2 separate regions of the Homo sapiens genome follow, and region 1 is linked to region 2. Evidence: promoter capture Hi-C in human tissues and cell types (Jung and others, 2019). All regions are on one chromosome and are shown on one strand. The core of a region is centred on a gene start or on the middle of the fragment in contact, and the rest is flanking DNA. Distances in the headings are between cores, read along the strand shown. Region 1 overlaps FMO1-AS1 (FMO1 antisense RNA 1). Region 2 holds the start of MROH9 (maestro heat like repeat family member 9).

Region 1 (6,043 bases), core at 3,396-5,895, 240 kb after region 2:
CTGACAAAACTGCAACTTTGTTTCTTTTTATCTACATCTCCTGATCTCCCCCTACCTCTGGTAACCACCTTTCTACTCTGTTTATGTGTATTCAGCATTTTTAAGATGCTGCATATAAGAAAGATGTGGAATACTTTTTTTTTCCTGTGGCTTATTTCACTTAGCGTAATGTCCTCTAGGATCATCATGTTGCAAATGGCAGGATCTCCTTCCTTTCTAAGGCTGAATAATATTCGTGTGTGTGTGTGTGTGTGTGTGTGTGTGTGTGTGTGTGTGTGTGTGTGTAGAAACCAGCCCTTTCAAAAGATTCCATGCCTGATTTCAACCAACTGCCTGACTGATAAGAGATCACTGATGACCACGGAGTGGTTCTGGCCAGTCTGCAGAGAATGCACAGTGAGGATTTTGTGTCCTCTGCTTCACCTTTTGACATCAGAGGGCCAAAAACACCACCCTTGGGTCATGCTAATCCTGCCATTTTTTGAACATGGGTCCCGTGAAGGAAGATGAAGCTCAGATGTGCACATAAATGTTTCTCATTTCATAAATACTCATGATTCCTCCTATAGCATATTGAATTTGCATATTTAGCCACCCTGCTCAACATAAATTCATGTTCCCTTTGCCCCACCTCCACACCCCTCCCCCCCAAAAGTGCCTGCTTCCAGCTTCTGGCCAGAGGCCATGCTTCCCAGCTCATCAGAAGGGCCACCCTTCAGGCTATAATCATTTATGAGAAATAAAGCTCTCCTTCACAAATTTATGAACCTTGTCATTCTTCAACTGACACTAGTATATCATGATCCACCAAGCTTAAAATCTTACAAATAACCTTTATTGTCTCTGTCTCCTTAGCTATTTGTAGTTATTAGGTCACCAAGATCTGAAAATAGACACATCTATGGGAATAGAAGAGGCAAGGTCAAACCACAAGATATCTATAGTCTTCCTGAATTCATCCCTATGTGAGCATGTACGCACACGCACTCGTGGACATGCACATGAACGTACACACACACTCAGATTTGAACATGAAATACATTGGGCTTAAAGTAAATAAGTTACTCCTGTTGACAACCTGTTCTTGTTCCCACTTTAAAGTAAGACTCGGCTATTCCCTAAAAGTACATCCAATTCTATGAAATTTTAGCAAATCATTCCAATTTTTCTATAGGAAGACAAAAGAATACACCTGACAACAAAAACATTAATAAAAAATCCTCATTAGATCTCTGTTTCCTCTCAAGGTTCTTCTCAGATGACTTGTCACCCCCACCCTTTTATCAACCCTTCCTCCCCAGAGCTTCTCCATCCTTGATTCCAAACTAACTGCCTATTCAGAGCAAAGTCAAAGAATTATTTTATGGCCTATTTCAGGGAAGAAAGACAGCAAGAAAGTCAAGGAGTACTTTCTGCTTGTGCTGTTTTCTCAAATGCCAAGCTGTCATATTTTGAAACAATGTATCCTCAATCCCATCACCACCAAGCTTCCACTGTTTTCTCATTAGAACAATTCAGTTATCTCTGGCTTTTCCAACTCAGTACCCTAACATCTGTTATCTCAGTTAACAAAGGATTATCCTTTGAAAATATCTGGGAATAGTCCACACAACTACTTTTCCTCATGTGTCATAATTGTTTGTCCTGTGACAGGTACATCCAGTACAGGCTTGAAAGGTAAAAGAAGCCATAAAGAAGCATCTGCAATCAGAAAGAGGTTGTAGAAAAGAAGAAAAAGTCAGTTATTTTGCTTTCTCTACAGTTAGAGCCAAGAAAACTATATTTAGAAAACTGGATTTTATTCTAAAATTTGGAGATTTTTCCCACATCTCTTCTCTGGATAGATTATAATTCTATACCCCTATCTCAAAACTTTTAACATATGCAGAATAACAGGTATTTGCATTCCTCTTAAATATCTGGTTGTGACAAAGCTTGTTGTTGATCAGACTCCGTTTCGCTCATACATATTATAATGGTTTTGTTTTATAAATGTGTTACACACAACAAAAATGTGATTGCTTCAAAATATTTATAAAATATTGAGGAAATTCAGGATGTACCACCCCAGTATAACTGTAGGAGACCAGACTATGCCACCTTAAGAATGCCTCTTTGGCACAAAAATTATTTAAAGTTGATTATTTTGAGAAACAGCAGACACAAGAGAAGCTTTGAAAACAGAAGTTATTCTTTTGTAAGGAAAATTTATATCTATAAAGGAAATCTTCATTTGTAAGGGTATCTCCCTCTCTGTACCAGGAAGAGAAGGATTACTTAATCATTAGAAATTCTTATCAGTGGAAAAGTCATCAGCAAAAATCTGCATAATAAACCTTGTTCTTGTTTAACAGGCCTTTCTTGGCATAATTTTTTTCTTGTCATAACTGAGTCTCTCTCACATACTTCTTTGTATCAGGGAACCATGGTATTTAAGCTCGAAGTCAAAGCCACCTGTTTCAGATCTACTCCAGAGAACTCATTTTTCCCTGAAAATGTATAGATAAGATATACATGTAATTAAACTTCTGTTTTTCTCTTATTAATCTTTTATTACAAAGGTCTGTCCCAACTAAGAACTCATGCAGGGTAGAGAGAAAATCGTGTTTCTTCACCTACAGCTCATTAAATGACTCAAAACAATGTTTAAATAGGAAACCAATGGGGTGTTTAAGCAGGGAAGTAGCAAAAATTGATTTAACAGTATAGGAAAATACTTTTACCTTCAAGGCAGAGAATTTATTATAAATGGGAAAGACTACAAACAAGAACACCAGTTGAAAAGCCACTGCAACAATCTAGGCCTGATTTCAATAATTCAGAACTTATGACAATTTTGACAAGAACATGGCTGAAGTGTCCCTTTATTTTATCTATAAAAGGGATATTTCATGAACACTTAGCACTATAAACAAAATTGTAAGAGAAAGCTTAAACTATTATACAACACAAAATATTTTAAATACCGTGGAAGCAATCACATTCCCACAATTAATGTACTAGTTATAAACTATTACGTACTTTTGAAAGTATGTTCTTGAAAGACTTTCACTGGGCAAGAACTTGTTCAGTAGTTCAAGTATGTGCAATACCTGGCACACAATATGTACTCAATAAATATTTACTAAATAAATCCATACACTCATCATTTCTTTAAAAATAGCACCCCATTCAGATATCACACCAATTTACTGGCTTTACCACCTCCACCTACCACCCTGCCTCCAGTTACTATGGAAAAAAAGTCTTCTATCCATAACATATTCTCATAGAATATGAGCTACAATCCTAGTATATAAATATTTTAAAATAGACCGGAAATTATCTTTGACTTATAAAATTAAACAACATAATTTTAAATCACACAAAATATAGTAGGATTAAAGTTATGAATGTATCTGCAGAGAAGCCAGCAAAAATTCAAGTTGTTTGTTTTCCTAAACATTAGTCATATTGGAAATGTGTTGTGTTAAAAGACAAAATTACAACAAATCTAGTTTTGCAGGCGTTAATTGGCCTTTATTTGTGACTTTAGAATTGAGCAGCAGTTCAGTCCAAAAATGGCTCAGAATGTTCCACCCCACCAAATGTGTAGGTTATATTTGTAACTAGAGAAAAGGAAGTGACATACAGAAAACTGCACTGAGGTACAGAGATAGCCCAATTGGTTATAGTTCACATCTGTCTTATTTGAACATGGTTTGAAGAATTGGCCATCTGTGATTGGCTGAGATTCTGTTCCTAAGTTAGGTTTTCAGTTTGTTTAAGTGCTGAGTTGGGCTGCATTTAGGAACTCACACATAGGCCTCCTTGGGCCCACTTTTAATTTGTTTTAATAGTTGTTCATGTGATTTAAAGGATTTGATTAAACACAGTAAAGAACTTCCTGGTAGTGAGGACAGCTAAAAGAATGAGTGATAAAGAGAAATTTAGCATCTCCCTCTCTAGGAAGCTGTATAAACACACTAACTCCTTATAAGTCTCAGTAAATTTCTATGTAAAATTCATAATGTCATGGGTATAGTTTGAGCTAAAATTTACTTCTGCTAACTATAACTTCTGTTTTTAAGTTTGCAGAGTAAATAAATTAAGTGAACAATATTTTGATGGGGGAACTTAGACTACTGAAGAAAACAAAATGCAATCTGGTACTATTTTAACATAAAATCCGTACAATTAAGAAATATAACAATTATAAATAATTACTTCTTTGCAAAGAAAGTGCTCCCGAAGGTCCTCACCACACCTGAAAGTAATCATACTGCATTTATTTTTAAATAAATCATTATTCAAAGCTTTCACTAATTTTCACTGACATCCTAAAAGGTAAATACTAGTCAGTCTCTTTACATTTTGTTTGTTTGTTTGAGATAGACTCTTGCTCGGTTGCCCAGGCTGGAGTGTAGTGGTGCAATCTCAGCTCACTGCAACCTCCACCTCCCAGGTTCAAGCGATTCTCCTGCCTCAGCCTCCCAAGTAGCTAGGACTACAGGCGCACATCACCACACCGGGCAAAATTTTATATTTTTAGTAGAGACAGTGTTTCACCATGTGGGCCAGGCTGGTCTTGAACTCCTGGCCTCAAGTGATCCTCCTGCCTCAGCCTCCCAAAATGCTGGGATTATAGGCATGAGCCACCACACCTGAATAATTCTTGTATTTTTAGTAGAAACGGGGTTTCGCCATGTTGGCCATACTGGAGTCTCTTTACAGTAAATTCAAAAAGTATCATAAAATAAAACTAGTTTACATTAGAAACAGTAAAAAAGCATGTAAGCAAGTCAGAGTACTGGCTACTAGAAAGTAATTTCAAATACTAGCTATTTAAAGGACCAGGCACCATTGAAAAGGATTGATGCAATATAAAGAGACAGGTGAGATTTAAAAGGAGAGACTACATTTTAAAAGTTGGTCTTTGAAATGCATAGCTCTGAGTGAGAAAAGAAAAGGCAAAAAGAAGGAAGACAAGCCCTGTGGCAATTTGGCAGTGAAGGGAGAAAGAAGAAAAAAAGGAAGAAAAAAATTAGGGTCCTATAAGACAAAAAAAGAACCATAAAATTGGAGGATTCAAAACCCTTCCCCAATCATCATCATTAAAACAAACAAACAAAAGGAAAACTGTTAAATATCTGAACTTTTCTACTTTTTCAGAAGAGGGCACCACTAAATAAGGAATCTGGTAAAATATCCTAATTTCATAAAAACAAATAAGATAAAGATAAGCTATGTCCAGAGAGATAGGAGAGAGAGATGAAAACAAGAAAAGAAGGAAGGAAGGAAGGAAGGAAGGAAGGAAGGAAGGAAGGAAGGAAGGAAGGAAGGAAGGAAGGAGGGAAGGAGGGAGGGAGGGAGGGAGGGAGGGAGGGAAGGATGGAGGGAGGGAGGGAGGGGGAGGAGAGGGGAGGGGAGATGGGGAGGAGAGGGGAGGGGAGATAGGGAGGAAGGAATCAAAAGGTTTTCTAGAGATCCACTGGGAGAATTCTGTTTATACCTCACTGGTCAGAGTGGAGATTGCATGGTGACTTCTAAGTACAAGGGCATCTGAAATAACGATAAATAATTTTTCCCAGCCTATAGTGGAAGGTAAAAAGAGAAAAATGAACTTGGAAACTTTTGGGTAACCAATAAACAGTATGTGTCATACCTCTTCTGTAACTGAAATATATTACTTCCATGCTCACACTTTATTAGTAATTCAGCTAAATGTAAAAGTATAAGCTGAAAATGATACTACCTTAGACTTTTAAAGTCATTGCCCCATTGCCTTCGAGCTTCAATATTGTTAAAAGCCCATTGTTCATTCTACTTCCTGTCCTTTATATGCGACTTGTATTTCCTTTTCTGAAAGGTTGTGGAATCTCTATCTCTGGGGTTCTGAAATTTCTTGGTGAATTGCCCTGGTTTTGAGTCCTTTTTATATTATCAGGTCTGGAACTTTACCAGTTCAATTTCCACAAAGATCAAACCTCCAGTCTCCATCCAGGATGAAGGAAGGTCAGTCTCATAGTTGTTTGCAGAATGAGGATGAGAAATATCCATTTCA
Region 2 (6,266 bases), core at 3,373-5,872:
AGCTATCCATGTTTAGATATACAATCTTAGTCCATTATTTTAATTGCTATTTCCATTGTATGAAGAGATCACAATTTGTTTAATATTAGAAATTTTTTTTCTATCAAAACAAAACAGTGAAAGCATTTTTAGAATGGTGGGGCAAGGACTTCTGCTGTACAGAAAGCATGGCTGCAGAGGCCTCAGGAAACTTTCATTCATGGCAGGAGGGGAAGCAGGCCCATCTTACATAGCTGGAGCAGGAAGAAGAGAGAGAAAAGAGAGAGAAGGGGAAGGTGCTATCCACTTTCAAACAACCAGATCTCATGAGAACTCACTCACTATCATGAGAACAGCAAGGGGGAAAATCCATCCCAATGACCCAATCACCTCCCACCATACCCCTCCTCCAACATTGGGAATTACAATTTGTCATGAGATTTGGGTGGGAACACAAATCCAAACCATATCAGTCTGCCCTTAGCCCCTCCCAAATCTCATGTCCTTCTCACACTGCAAAATACAATCAACTCTTCTCAACAGTTCTCCAAAGTCTTAACTGATTTCAACATTAACTAAAAAGTCCAAAGTCTCATCTGAGACAAGTCTAGTGCCTTCTATGAGCCTGAAAAATCAAAAACAGTAAGTTAGTAACTTCCAAGTTAGAAAAACAGTAAGTTAGTAACTTCCAAGATACAATGATGGTACAGGCAATAGGGAAATATTCCCTTTCCAAAAGGGAGAGATCGGCCAACACGAAGGGGCTACAGGTGCCATGCAAGTCTGAAACCCAGCAGGGCAGTCTTTAAATATTAAAGCTCCAGAATAATCTCCTTTGACTCCATGTCTCAAATCCAGACAACAATGATGCAAGGGGTGGACTCCCAAGGCCTTGGGCAGCTTCGCCCCTGTGGTTCTGCAAGGTATTGCCCCCGTGGCTGCCTTCTCAAGTTTGTATTGAGTGCCTGCAGCTTTTCCAGGTGCACAGTACAAGCTGTTGGTGGATCTACCATTCTGAGGTCTGGAGGACAGTGGCCCTCTTCTCACAGCTCCACTAGGCAGTGCCCCAGTGAGGACTCTGTGTGAAGGCTCCAACCCCACATTTTCCCTCCACCCTGCTCTATAGAGGTTCTCCATGAGAGCTGTGCTGCCACAGCAGACTGCTGCCTGAACATCCAGGCATTTCCATATGTTATCTGAAATCTAGGCATTGGCTCCCAAGCCTTAACCCTTGTCCCCTGTGCACCTGCATGCTTAACACCATGTGGAAGCCAGCAAGGCTTATGGCTTGCATATTTTGAAACAGTGGCCTGAGATGTACCTGGGGCTGTTTTAGCCACAGTGGGAGCTGTAACAGCTGGGACACAAGAAGCAGTGTCCCAAGGGCAGTGGGGCCCCAAGCCTGGCCCTTAAGACCGTTCTTCTTTCCTAGGACTCCAGCCTGTAATGGGAGGGACTGCCCTGAAGTTCTCTCAAGTACCTTTATGGCATTTCCCTCATTGTCTTGGCTATTAACATTTGGTTTCTCTTTACTTATGCAAATTTCTGCAGCTGGCTTGAACTCCTCCCCAGAAAATTGGTTTTTCTTTTGCACCACATGGTCAGGCTGCAAATTTTTATGCTCCGCTTCCCTTTTTAAGTTCCAGTTTCGGACCATCTCTTTGCTTAGGCATGTGGGCATATATTGTTAGAAGCAGCCAGGTCACATCTTAAATGTTTTGCTGCTTAGAAATTTCTTGCACCAAATTCCCTAAATCATCACTCTCAAGTTCAAACTTCCCAATAAGTTCCTCATGTCCATCTGAGACCTCATCAGCCTGGCCATCTCTGCCCCACTGTCAGCAATTTGGTCAAAACCATTCAAGTCTCTAGGATGTTCCAAACTTTCTCTCATCTTTCTGTTTTCTTCTGAGCCAACCAAACTGTTCCAATCTCTGCCCATTACCCTGTTCCAAAGCTGCTTCCACATTTTCAGGTATCTTTATAGCAATGCACCACTCCTAGGTACTAATTTTCTGTAGTAGTCTGTTCTCACACTGCTTTAAATAAATATCTGAGACTGGGTAATTTATAAAGAAACAAGGTTTAACTGGCTCACTGTTCCACATGTTGTACAGAAAGCATGGCTGGGGAGGCCTCAGGAAACTTTCAATCATGGCTGAAGGGGAAGCAGGTTCATCTTACATGGCCAAAGCAGGAGGAAGACAGAGAAGAAGGGGGCTAGAAGGAAGTCAGATGACAACAAAGAACCATAAAAAAAATTACTGGGCCAGGTGCAGTGGCTCACACCTGTAATCCCAGCAATTTGGGAGGCCAAGGCGGGTGGATTACGAGGTCAGGAGATCGAGACCATCCTGGCTAACACGGTGAAACCCCGTCTCTACTGAAAATACAAAAAAATTAGCCACTGTGGTGGCACGCACCTGTAGTCCCAGCTACTCAGGAGGCTGAGGCAGGAGAATTGTGTGAACCTGGGAGGTGGAGCTTGCAATGAGCCGAGATTGCGCCACTGCACTCCAGCCTGGATGACAGAGCAAGACTCCGTCTCAAAAAAGAAAAAGAAAATTACCAACTGAGAATTCTATATTTGACCAAACTATCCTTCAAAAAAAAAGAAAGAAAGAAAGAAAGAAAGAAAGAAAGAAAGAAAAGAGAAAGAAAGGAAGGAAGGGAAAGAAAGAAAGGAAAAATTAAGTATTCACAAATAAAGTAAGATTGTTTTTCTAGCAGATCTGCCCTACCAGAAATACTGAAGATATTGTCTCACGCTGAAATAAAAGAATACTAGCTAGTCACTCAAGTCTACACAGAGAGCACACTCATAAACTACAGAGGTAGAATAAAATTATTTGGTTTTGTTCTCCTATTATGTTTAAAAGAAAACAGCTTAAAGCAATAATTATAAAACTGGGTTGGTGGGATTATAATGTTTAAATATATGTATGTATAACATGAATATATATAATGTGCATGGCAATAATAGCAGAAAAAATGAAGGAGGAAACCAGGTATACTGGAGCAAAACCTTTGTATGTTATTGAAACTAAATTGATATTAATTCAAACTACATTGTTTTAGGCTAATGTTATAATTGTGACCCTAGAACAAACAAAGTTTGAAAATTCACACTTCTTGATTTCAAAACTTACTACAAAGACACAGAAATCACCACAGTGTGCTACCAGTATAGGAAAAACATATAGATTAATGGGATAAAATTGAGTTCAGAAATAAACCATTTTAGTCAATTCATTTTTTACAAAGATGTGGAGACAATCAGGAAAAGAATCATCTTTTTAACAAATTGTACTGAGACAAGTGAATATCCAGATGCAAAAAATAAGATAAAATTAGACCTCTACCTCACACTATATACTAAAACTAATTCAGAATGAACCAAAGACCTAAATGTAAGGCAAAAACTACAAAACTCTTAGAAAAGTTCTAAATCTAATCTCTGTGAAGTTGGGCCAGGGAATGCAGGCAATGTCTTTTTCTTTTTTTTTAGTTATGATACCAAAAACACAAGCAATAAAAGAAAAAGAATGGCAAATTTAAATTTCACTTAAATTTAAAACTTTTGTGCTTCAAGAGACACTGTCAAGAAAATGTAAAGGCAGCCCATAGAAAAGGAGGAATATTTGCAAATTATGTATCTGATAAGAGACTAGCATCTAGAACATATTAAAAAATCACAACTCAGTAATAAAAATCCAAACAGTCTAATCATAAAAAGTCACATATTGTATAAATCTATTTACATAAAATGTCCAGAAGGCAGACAGAAGATTAGTGGTTGCCAGGTACTTGGGGGAGAGGGAGGGTGAATGTCTGCTAACAGGTACAGGGTTTCTTTGGAGCTTGTTCTAAATGAAAATGTTCTAAAATTAGATAGTAATGATGGTTGTATACCTCTGTAAATATATTTAAAATGATTGAATTATATACTTTAAGATAAATTTTATGGTATGTGAATTATATTTTAATAACTCTATTATAAAAAGTGCTACAATAAACATCCTTCATGTCTCTCAGTGCATCAGTTGTATACATGTTTATACACTCTATGGACCTAGAACTGGAAATTCTGGGTTGTAGATTTTCAGTTTTGCTAGAACTTGACAAGTTTCTCTACAAACTAGTTATATCCATTTATAATCCCACCAGTCGTGTGAGAAAGTTCAACTTTCTTTTATCTTTGCCAATATTTGAAATTATCTTTTTTTAATTTTTACTTGTATTTTAGTACTTTTTAACTTATTAGCTGGGAAATAATATTTTAATGGTTTGTATTTTCATAACTTCAAGTGAGATTAAAAATCTTTTAAAATATTTATTGGCCATTCAGTTTTCCTTTTCTGTGAATTTTCTATTCTTATCCTTTGCCCAGCTTCTACTGGACTGTTGGTCTGAAGAACTATCTTTCAGTGCTTGTAACATAGAAACCAGAAACTTACCCACCCCTCAATAATGACAGGTGAGCATTAGTAGCCACTTGGGCATGCCAGGACATTCTACCACATTCATTCCAGAATGGAATCTTTGAAACATATGGTTGCCATGACGAGTGTCAACATTTCAAAGAATTTGCTTGGTTGATAACTACCTAGAGTATTTTACCTTTGGCTAAGAGGTAATATACTAGAGTTTCTCTTCACTACTTTGTCTCACCGTGATTACAGAGAAGTTACAAATATGTAAGTGAATTCCTATTAATATTTCTGTCATTCAAAAGCTTGTCTTTTTTTCTAATCCTGACTACTTTTCTTAATTTTTGTTCTGTTAAGAAAAAGAACCATGAATACATTAGAAAATTACGTTATGGCCCAGGTATGGTGGCTCACACCTGTAATCCCAGCACTTTGGGAGGCTGTGGGCGGATCATGAGGTCAGGAGGTCGAGACCACCCTAGGCAACTTGGTGAAACCCCATCTCTACTAAAAATACAAAAATTAGCTGGGTGTGGTGGCGGGTGCCTGTAATCCCAGCTACTCAGGAGGCTGAGGCAGGAGAATCACTTGAACTCGGGAGGTGGAGGTTGCAGTGAGCCGAGATCATGCTACTGCACTCCAGCCTGGCAACAGAGTGAGACAAAAAAAAAAAAAAAAAAAAAAAAAAGAAAAGAAAAAGAAAATTACATTACTATGGGCCCTCATCCAGAAATCTTGCCAAAGTTGGCAATTGGAAGAATTTGTCTTTATTCATTAATCTCCTAACTTCATGCCTTACTAGTAAGGATTATCTTATTAGTAAGGATGAGAGAAACCACAACTATATAGATAAATATATTTATTATAAGGTATTGGTTTACACAATAATAGAAGCTAGGAAGTCCTGGATTCTGCTTTCTGCAAGACAGAGACCCAGGAGATCCAATGGTGCAGTTTGAAGGCCTGAGAGCAAGAGAGTTGATGATAAAAATTCCAGCCTGGTTCTGAGGATCTGAGAACCAGAGCACCGAGGGCAGCAGATTTGTGTCCCAAGTCAAGTAGTCAGGCAAAGAGAAAACTAAGCATTCTTCTGCCTTCTTGTTTTATTCAGGCCCTCAATGGATTGGAAGATGTTGACCCACATTAGGGAGTGTCATCTCCTATCATCAGAACACCAATTTAAATGCTAATCTCTTCTGGAAATACCCTCACAGACATACCCCAAAATAATGTTTACCAGATATCTGGGCATCCTATGGCTCACTCAGTTTGACACGTAATATTAACTAACCATAATGAGTTCCCACGTTGAAAATTTGGCACCCATATACATATCCTTAAGCCATAGTTAATCTCCAAATAAAGTCAATAAGAAGCTCATAATTCCATTTAACATGTTGAAATGTAGTGGGATTGATAAGGAATCAGAGAGACCGATGGGGTTGAGAAGGATATTTATTATTTAGGTGCACCGGCCCAGTTGGATTAACCTCCAAAGGACTGAGCCCTGAACAAAGAGTTATCTTTTAATCATTTCGTGGGGTGGGGGAGATCTGTGTAGGGGGAAGCATATTACAGAAGTGAGAAACAAAGACAGTTATTCAATTAATTGAAACATGCATTACATCATTTCTTACTTTTCAAGGAAAAACATGTTTTATGACTTGAGTTTATCTGTCTAGTGACCTTGCAGCTGCACAGCTAGAGAAACAGGGTCTTCACAATGCCTGGGAAAGGAGGAGAGATAAGGCTCACTAGCCACAGAAAAACAGGCAGTTAATTTTAAAGGACTCCAGCTCTTTCTCTTTCTCTGGGGAATTGGGTTTTCTTACATACAACTGAGTTTCTGCTTACACA

The links. Contacts are between HindIII fragments. The study calls those that stand out against the background at their distance.
Region 1: a contact is called between a fragment that was not itself captured here and the fragment with the promoter of MROH9 in region 2, in 2 of the 25 tissues and cell types used here (H1 embryonic stem cells and hippocampus).

Annotation. Positions count from the first base shown.
Region 1 is chr1:171,169,611-171,175,653 of GRCh38, forward strand. The region is part of intron 2 of FMO1-AS1 (FMO1 antisense RNA 1); the gene reads right to left. Among named protein-coding and RNA genes, the nearest start is that of FMO2, 13 kb to the right of the region's middle. The HindIII fragment of the contact is 6,992 bases long and covers 1,150-6,043 here.
Region 2 is chr1:170,930,912-170,937,177 of GRCh38, forward strand. MROH9 (maestro heat like repeat family member 9) reads left to right here and starts at 4,623. Exons shown (of 22, transcript NM_001163629.2): 1 at 4,623-4,676. RefSeq lists an enhancer at 1,371-1,560. The HindIII fragment of the contact is 10,538 bases long and covers 1-6,266 here.